Linked DNA regions of Homo sapiens: region 1 is linked to region 2. The links are contacts of gene promoters, found by promoter capture Hi-C in blood cells and fetal thymus (Javierre and others, 2016). All regions are on one chromosome and are shown on one strand. Each heading gives the region's core, a stretch centred on a gene start or on the middle of the fragment in contact. The rest is flanking DNA. Distances are from core to core; before and after follow the strand shown.

Region 1 (4,792 bases), core at 610-3,109, 260 kb before region 2:
GGTTGCAACACAGCACCTGGCAACGAATAAGCACTCAACACATGTTAGTTTTTATTGTTATAATTGCGATTTTATCCTCAGGAGGAGCTGCAACTCTTTACGACCTGTTCAGATCTCCTGGATTGATGAACACAGAGGAAAGATACCAGATCCCTCTTCATTTCAGCCCCATCCCCTTACTTATTAGCAGTTCAAAGATTCTGCCATCCACCTGAAAATACCAAATAAGAAAACAGACGCCATTTTAAAAGATTGTCTCGTGGATCCTGCCTAGATAGAACAAACTAATTCCGGGGACAGTAAAAAAAAAGTCCTTTGGCTTCTTTCCCCAGAAGAGTGTGTGAAGAAAGTAGAAGCAAATATTAATAGTACTGATCACTTACTAGACCTATCTATACTTATTTTTTGCCTAAGCTTTTGAATTTTTTTCTTAAAAAACTATCATTCTCCAAAGACAGTAAACATCCAGAGGCAACAGACTTTACTAAAAGTCACAATAATCATAGCATACTATGCCCATCTCTAACTCAAGGCTGCCTGAATAGAAAGAAACATTGTGATTTCTAACAACCTTTTCCTGAGAACAGAGAAGCACACAGCCTATTTCACTGTACCACTCAAAGCATATAGCCTATTTCAAGGTTAAACTAGTTTCAAAACGCCATACAAAACTAAGTCATGAATTGTCTAGATAAACAAAACAATCACTTCCCCAGTTCCATAGTGAGGGGTGGGAACACAGGAAACCTCGCAGAAATGGATAACTCTCTCTCTCTCCTCCTCAGTATAAGAATGAAAACTTTTCGGCCCATGCTAGGACTTGGGACTGAAAGTAGGATTCACACTCAGATACGGGAGGAAGGGTTAAATTAAGAGGAATCTGTCTTCCTTTACCCTCCCTCTCCCCAATTCACAGAATAATTATTGGTGTCTACAACCTGAAATATTAGTAAACATTTCCTCCAATAGCTAAGGAAATGCTTCCAGAAACATGCACATCGGTAGTGCTCTTCCAGACTGGCAAGTGTGGGTTTGAAGTGTGTGCGTGTGTGTGTGTATATATATGTGTGTGTGTGAGAGAGAGAGAGAGAGAGATTTTGATGCTTGGAAAACATATTCTAAAAAGCGGCCATAATTTCTTTTTCAGGGGGGCCCCTTTTGGCTCCTTCAGACCTCAGCCCAGAGAACCAGAGAAGGGTCAGAGACGCACGAGGGAGAGGCTGAACTCACACTTACCTTTGACCAGTAGAAGAGGTGAGAGTGGGGTTTGGCGCTTTGTTTGTTTTTGTTTTGTTTTCTGTTGCTTTTAGCACGCCCCCAGCGCCAGGGCACTGGAGGGTGGAGGCGGGTCCGGGCTGGGCAGAGCCCGCGGGGCGGAGGGGACCGAGCGGGCCGCCGCGCCTGCCGCGTCCGGCCAGCAGGGGGCTCCGGCGCTCTTCTCCGGGCGTATTGGGCTCAGCCCGCGCGGCCCGGACCTCGGGCAGGGCAGGGGATCTGGAGAAGGGAGGACCAGGGGAGGAGGGCGAGAGCTTGAGAGAGACAAACGGGGGTGAGCCGCACAGCGGGGTTCCCCAAGAGCCAGCGGAGCCTTCTCGGAGCTGCTTAAGACCTGACAAATCCTGGAGGAGCCAGGCGTTTTCGTGAACGGGGTCTGAGCCTCCGCCTTACCAAGGCTCCCGAGTCCCGCGGGGCCGTCTTGCTCCGGCCTCCAGCCCGGGGCGCCCTTGGCCCGACGGGCAGCCGTCCTTGCGAGGGCGTTAGGGAGTGAGCCGTGGTCTCTGGCCCAAACTCGGGAGGACAGCAGAGAGCTCGGCCAGGGCTGCGGGGAGAGCGATGACTCCCACGCCCCCGCGTCCGCACCAACCGCGCCTCGCGCTTCTGGAGCCGCAAAGCTCAGGCCCACTTAGAGAGGCAACGATTTGTCTATGGATGTCCTGTGTAACCACACCTTTGCTTTGGCTTCCTTTCCTCGATCTGAAATCCAAGGTGGTGGTTGATTTTTTCGCTCTCCTACTCTCCCAGAGGAGGCCCCGGTCCGAGCCAGCGCTGGCGGGCTGCGGCTGCTGAAACTAGAGTTCCTGTGGCCAGAATGGTGCCCCTTGCCCGCTCCAGGGCTTCAGAGAAGAGCGAGCCCGGCCCGGGGCTAGGGTGTCCGGCCTGCCCCGCGAAGGCGCGCTGGGCCTGGAGACTTTGCGCTCTTCACTTCGCCAGACGAGAGTTTAGCCCGGGGCCCGTCCGCGACACCTGGCCTCCGGCGGTTTTCGGGACCCTCTCTCAAAACTGCGCGAGCGCCGAGATCACTCTGGTATTAGCTCCCTTTAGATGAGGAAGGCATTGTATCTTTCTAAGGGGGTCTCTCAGACCTAAGTTATTTTGGTCTGCAGTGGTAGTAATGGCCTTGAATTTGTTTAAACTTACTGCCCACGACACCCTCTCCCCAAATCCCCCTACACCCACACAGTACGCTCCATCACGGCCACCACCACTCCCACTCCATTTGCATTTGAAAACCTCTGGAAACATAAGCGCTTTCAGGATGAACTCTCTCTCTCTCTCTCACTCTCTCTCTCTCTCACTGTCTCTCTCTCTCTCTCTCTCTCTCACACACACACACACACACACACACACACACACACAGCCCGCCAAGTGGAAACTGAGTTGAGTCATAGGATGCATATGAATAGGATTGGATGGTCCTTTGCTTCTGCGGATAAGAATGTTTAATAACCCAGGATTCCGGGCAATAACAGCATTACAGGGTTTCTAGAACTCTGTTCTGATCCTTTAGAAATTGTTAGAACAATAGTAATGATAGTAGGAGGAGAAGTAGGACTATGTTTTTCAAGGCACTTGCAAGCAATCTGCTACATCGTTTATGGGAGAACTTAAAAATATTCCCCTTGATTAAGACTCACAGGTCAAATATCATCTCTCTTTTCTGCATGCTAATTAAAAGCAACTCTGTTCTTAGGTATTTGACAGTCATTTGAATCAAGATACTTGAAAATTTCTGACTCAATAGCAATGTGCTTCAGTACACACAATCAAGTATAATCATATATATGTGAGATATGACTTTGAAGAGGAGATGACTTTTTTAAAAAAAAGACGCATACTCAAAGACAACTAGAAATGGCTGCTGCAGGCAACCAGTCACTGCTCTGACTACAACATATTTGTGCAATTAATAGTCTCACAACCTAGTCCAAATCCCCTCTTTACTTGGAGCAGGAGTGTTAATGAACTGTAGATGCAAAGCTCTTAATGTATAGATGTAGTGTCCTCTTGAAATTTAACAAGCTTTGAAAATGTAATAAAACAGAGATAAGTATTCAGGTTATTTTTAGTTTGTGTTGGCTTGTTGTGTTTTTAATATTGTTTAAAATATGACACAGTTATCCTCAGTTCCTATCCCATATGTCCATTCTGGAGGATCCAGAAAACATATCAGTAGTTAGGGTAACAAAAAATCCTCCAAAAAAGACCCAAGTTTTGCCAGTAAACTTTAAGTCTTTATTGAGCATTTCATAATAGCTTTAAAAAAACAAAGTGCGGTTCATGTTTCTAGCTACTTTCATACAATGTTGAAATAATACTATAATTTGACTAGGTAAGATTCTTATTGATTGCTAATTTGGTGTTAGAATTGATTATATTTCACATAATGATATCCCACTGCTCAATGAGATGAATATTTATGTAATAGGGAAATACCATTGCTGGTTTCTTTACAACTCAGTGTGAATAGCCACATCGTTGACTTCCAAAGAATAAAAGAATCTTTCCATAAACCTTCTGAAGTCGTTTCTATAAACTTGCTCCACTTTCTAATATTGTGAAAGAGTTGATGTAATTTAATTTCTATTCTGTCAATTATAAATTTATTTCATCTTGGCAAGGTGCCCTATTTGGAAAAGTTGATTGTGGGAAAGGATGATAGTATAGCAGGAATATGGAGGTTGAAATAATGTTTAATTTTATAATCAAGATAAATGGTGTAATTGACCTCATCATATCAGGAGCAGGGAGAATCTGAAATGGTTTGATTTGCACACACTTCATTGAGTCTACCAAAAGCATACTGATATCAAATTGCCCAGGGCTATATATTTATTATGAGAATTCATAATTCCAATCCTGTTACATATGTTTTTTTTTTAATTTTGCTGGATCTTATGGAATAAGGATAAGGGAAGATGAAGAAAACTATACTAAATGTGTCAAAATGCTCCTTGTATCACAACAAAGTGGATGGTTTACTCAATGCAGCTAAATTCTCAGAAGAAAAACTGAAGTCACATCTTTAAAGAGCATTTTTCTTAATGTACTACCTATCTGTAAATAAATAGTTTAAACCATAATGAAAGCAAACTTAAAAAGTTGACTCTAGTTAAATATTGGGAGAGACTGAGTAACTTGTGTACCATCAATTTCCTGAGGACTTGGCCAAATTCTGCCTGCACTTTCAGCCTAACCTGCAGGGGGCAATAGCTTGACACGAATGACAACAAAGGCTGCTGAACTATTAGACTTGAATATCTGACTATGACCCTGGAATGTTGTGTAGGTTGGAAAGAGTGCTTAATTAATGTATATTGAAACAAAAGATCAGGTAAATTGTTTGATTTGTCTTCAAGCTATATTTTTAGACTAATTTAATTCATAACTGTTAGGTTTTTTTTTCCTTAAAGAGATTATCAAAGTTTTAGGAGACACATTCATCTTTAGAATTTTCCTGAACACTAATTGTTTACTACAGAATTTATGTAATGTATGTTACCAAAGAAAAGAC
Region 2 (4,955 bases), core at 950-3,449:
TGGTGGAGGGAGATGAATTACAAGACTATACAGGACTCGTTTCCTTGCCATAGAAAGGAATATGAATTTTAATTTAATGATAAGAAGCAAGTAGAGACGTAATGTCTACCCCTTTTTATAGGTATAAAATGGAGATTCAGAAAGGTTCCATAATTTGAAGATGGGAGTCTCATAAGTGGCAAGGCTGGACTTTATACTCCTGTCTGCCTGTTACAATGCCTATTCTTTTTTCAATACCACCTTTATTATCTGGTACATAGATACTTAACAAATGTTTCTGAACATATATGTGCTCTGTGATACAGCAGATGAAACTTTAAATAACTGAAGTGAATACATTTAAAAATACTTTAGATGCATTTATTAAAAGATAACAATAACAACAAGCTTTATTTTGATCATTTAATTTTTCAATAATGTGTTAAATACTTTGTATGGATTATCTTATTTATTCTTAATAACAATCCTGTGAGGTAGGTACTATTATTATGCCCATATTGTACGTACATGGACAAATATCTTCACCTCAATACTGTGAGGTAGGTACTATTAGTATACTCATTTTATAATAACAAATATTGAATATTTAACAAATATTGCAAATCTATACTTAAAATGGGTAGAATAATAGTACCTGCCTCACAGGATTGAGGTGAAGATATTTGCCCATGGTCATACACTGAGTAAGTGATAAATTCATAATAGCAGAAACTATTTCACTATTTGCTTGATTGTCACAGGGAATTCTTTGAAACCATGTTTATATTTGTGGTTATTCTGTGTATGACTAGATGGTTATAAAAGTTTAAAAATTAATTTCATAGTTCACATTTTTAATTTTCTATAACAATTCAGAGAGACTATCCAGACATATGAATTAGGAGAATAATTCTGAAGAAATAGATGACACAGCAAAGGACTCTACATATAGGTTAGGACCATATTCTTGTTGGGAAGATGGCCAAAAAAGAATTTTGAGGATATTTTTTCAATTATTTAACAAATATTGAAAATCTATTATGTTCCACTTGGAAAAGAAAGAATTGGTGGGTAGGAGCCAACTAAGATCCAATAAACTTTTGTCTGTGACTTAACTCTTCTGAAGTTGTCAGAACGTTATGTTCCCCAGAGTTAGTTGTTTTGGTTGACAGAAATCTATGATATGCCAAATAAAGACTTTCTAGTTACTATTAACTTTGCCTTGCATGTAGAAAGAAAATATTACTCATCAGAACTTATCATAAATCTTAGGATGCAGTCATATCCCTACATATATTTTGATTATTTCAAAATCAAATATATACTTTAAAAAAGGCTTACTATGTTTTGAAGGGTTCATATTTTTTTTCTGAAAAATGGCAAAATAGTGCTGGCCTCATGATGCTTGGTTTAGTACAGGAACATACATACTAATATAAACAGTATGCCCAGCCAATTCATTATCATCCTGGAACTATATTCAGCCTGGCTACTATCATGAAAGATGAGTAGAAGCAGTGAGCTGGCAAAGCTGGCCTCTGCCTCTGGTTGTTAAGCTGTTGGCAGCTCAGGATGCATGACCTTTCAAATATACGCTTCTAATTCAGGACTTCTTATGATGTCATGTAGTTATGTTCTTCCCTTTTAGTGTATTCTCTCTTCAAAATTCTGTGCTGAAAAAAGGAAAAAAAAGAAATGTAAGCTACTATCCTTTTGGCCAAATGTTGAACTTTTCCTTCTGTAACTTTGTAGGTAGGAGACAGCAGAGTAACTGATCTTCCTACTGAAATGAATTTCCTTGAGCAAAATTATTTCAAAAAATATGTCTGGTATCTTTGTTTATACCTCAGGGTTGCCGAGCTGTCAGCTGCATGCCTGCTTTTCATTGAAGCATATGTATATTTGTGTATATATGTGTTTGTATGGCTTCCAATAGCATAGTAATAATTTCAGGGGAGGAAATAGAAAAGAAAGCAAGATAAATGTATTACATTTTTGTATTTCCTCCTTGCATTTTTTTAAAGATAAGACTCTGTTGTAAAATATAAACTGGCAATTTGATCATTACTTGTTATTCATTTGAACTAGTTCAGTCAACAGATAATGGACAGTGAACAGAGAGACCTCTTTTGGTAAGCCATGTAGTTTTTCCAGGGGTGATTGTTATGCTATGTGTATTTAGATAGAAGCTTTTCCCTGTGTAATCAGCTTGCTGCTGCCCATTTTACTGCCAAACATTCCTTCTCTATGGTAGCATAATACTGTTACCAAGGGAACAGCTTATGGCCGACACATACAGTAGTGCCACAAATTAATTTCACAGTTATCAGGATATAAGGTGATAACAGTAACGTGAGCTACTGTGAAATTACCATTGTTCCCACAGAGTTAGTGTAATTATTACTTTTGTGGTAACTAAGCAAATAATTCACATCACTACTCCTGGATGTTTGTTCTCTCTTCTCTGTCTCACCCTCCTTCTTTGTCTTTCCCTTTCCTTCCTATATTTTCCTCTTTTGTTGATTCAGACTCTCTCCCTGAGTCTCTTTTCACAATTACCAATTAATGTAGAGTATTTTTTATATTGGCATTAAGAAAGAGTTTTATTGAAGTGGGGTGAAGGCATCTCATATATGTAACTCATGGGCATAATTAGGATGTTCACTTCTATCAAAGATATAAAGGACTAAAACAGTGTATTGAGAGGATACATTCAATTTGTGATCAATGTAGACTCAGAGATTCCAGTTTTATTTTCATAGAATGTTAACTTCATGTGTTGAATAGAAGGATCAGTTTAATGTGATTAAAAGCAGTGGAGAAAAATTAACTTCCCTAATTAGCTGTGTTGCTTAGGACAAGGAAAACAACTTAGCTTTTTAGTACTTACATCTATAAAATTGGGATAATAATAATGCCTACCTAACAGAATTGGTATGTGGATTAAAAGAGATATGTGTGAAAGTGAATTTTAAACTGTACAATAAAAGTTTTAAGCTATTATGATCATTGTCATATAAATGGGGATACATCTGTAAAATGGGGTTAAGTATATTCACCTAACAGAATTGGTATGTGGATGAAAAGAGATATGTGTACAAATGAATTTTCAGCTGTACAATACAAGTTTTAAGCTATTACCATCATTGTTATATTTTAATGGAGGCATCTTTTGATGATAGCCTACCCTCATTATCAGAAAATTTATAAGGATAATTCAAAATAACAGCAGTAACACAGGGAAGAACACTTTTTATTGCATTTTATTATAATAAAAAGAGTGTTTCATTATACCTAGGGCACAACAAAATGAGATGTTATCATTATAAAATAACAGTAATTTTAATAATGAAATTTTCCAGAGAATGAGTCATATTTTTTATTGTTTTTATTGAGTATATGTATATGTTAATTAAAATTTCAGCATTGAAATATAAAATAATATAGGAGTGTGTATAGTATGTCCATTATTTTTTAAAAAGCTACAATGGTGAGTACATGTGAAATATGAGTTGTTCACTATGTCAAAAAGTGAAGTTGCTAAGACAAAGGTAAAATTATAGAAATGAGTTTATGTAGGAATGTTTGTTTTTAATTGCGTCAATGTGCATTATGATCTTTAGTCTCCATTCTATGTTATTTTGCTTTTAAAACGTATTTTATGTATTCTGTTAGCAAGATCAGCATATAGCTAACAGTTAGTATCAGTTACTAAATGTTGAGTAGTTAATTATGTATTTATTTATCATTCTAACACTATAAATTATACACTTTTAGCAGTTAGAAAATTGATACATGATAGAATAAAATAATTTGATGAAATTTGTAGCTAGGCATATTTGTTGAATGAATGAATTAAATATGGTGAATATGTAGTAAACTGCCTCCCATTGCTAAATGTCTTTTTAGAGAGGGTAGGAAATTAAAAATAATTATTTTCTCATGTAAATTTTTCTGCCACCCATTTTGAAGTTACCCAACACTGGTAACTTTACATAAAGAAGTATGACTTTAACTGGACTCTGTGCTCATCCCATTAGTTAAGACTGCTTTCTCACATTATTATTATTTTGGAAATAAGTAAAATTATTTTTATTTCCTACTCTTATTTGTTCTCTACAAAGAAAATCTAATGTGATCTACAAAAAGATACTAGAACAAACAAGATTAGGTATATTGCAAGATTGATATACAAAAATCAAATATATTCTAATCACTAACAACAAACAATTAAAAATTAAAACTTAAAGCAATACCATTTAAGATAGCATAAAAATTATACAGTACTAGGGATAAATCTGACTTGTGAAAGATGTGAAAGATATGTGTACTAAAAATCTATGTACCCTGCCCTGAAATAAGTGAAGCATGGCTTCCCACTTTTTAAGTGTGAAATAAGCGTGGTGACTTTTTTCCGAAAAGTATAATATGTAAAGAGTTGGAAAAGAGTAACTTTACAGAAGAGAAGCCTGAAAAATACTAACTAGCCAGGCAATCAAGATTGATATCAATGGTAGTAAGTCATGTTGATAATATGTACCCTTAGGTGAATGGAATCCAGGTCAAACAAGCTTTTTAAAATAGAGATTTAAAAACAAAACGGAAGTAATATATGTTAACTGTAAACATCTATGATCAGTCTTTAACGTTTTTAATTTGCTTTTCTATAATGGTGAATGATGCTGAATATCTTTTCATGTGTTTTATGCCATCTGTATGTCTTATTTGGTAATGTGTCTGTTTAGGACATTTGTTTATTTTTTTTGGTCGGCTTGTTTCTGTTATTATTTATTTTTGAGAGTTTAAACAATATTATGGATTCAAGTTCTTATCAGATATGTGCCTTGAAAATATTTCCTCCTAGTATGTGGGTTGTCTTTTCATTCTCTTAAGAATGTCTTTTGGCCTTGCCTGGTGGCTTATGCCTGTAATCCCAAAATTTGGGAAGGCTGAGGTTGATGGATTGCTTGAGCCCA

What was found. Contacts are between HindIII fragments. The CHiCAGO score rates a contact against its expected background, and 5 or more counts as called.
Region 1: a contact is called between a fragment that was not itself captured here and the fragment with the promoter of DPYD-AS2 in region 2, in 1 of 17 cell types (M1 macrophages). The highest score is 5.1, in M1 macrophages.

What each region holds. Positions count from the first base shown.
Region 1 is chr1:98,050,948-98,055,739 of GRCh38, reverse strand. LOC124900404 (a long non-coding RNA gene) reads right to left here and starts at 1,361. Exons shown (of 2, transcript XR_007066241.1): 1 at 1,237-1,361. RefSeq lists a silencer at 1,260-1,519. The HindIII fragment of the contact is 2,886 bases long and covers 417-3,302 here.
Region 2 is chr1:97,794,165-97,799,119 of GRCh38, reverse strand. It overlaps DPYD-AS2 (DPYD antisense RNA 2), which reads right to left and starts at 2,199. Exons shown (of 3, transcript NR_046591.1): 1 at 2,048-2,199; 2 at 1,825-1,905; 3 at 1,069-1,652. The region is part of intron 3 of DPYD (dihydropyrimidine dehydrogenase); the gene reads left to right. The HindIII fragment of the contact is 2,382 bases long and covers 2,171-4,552 here.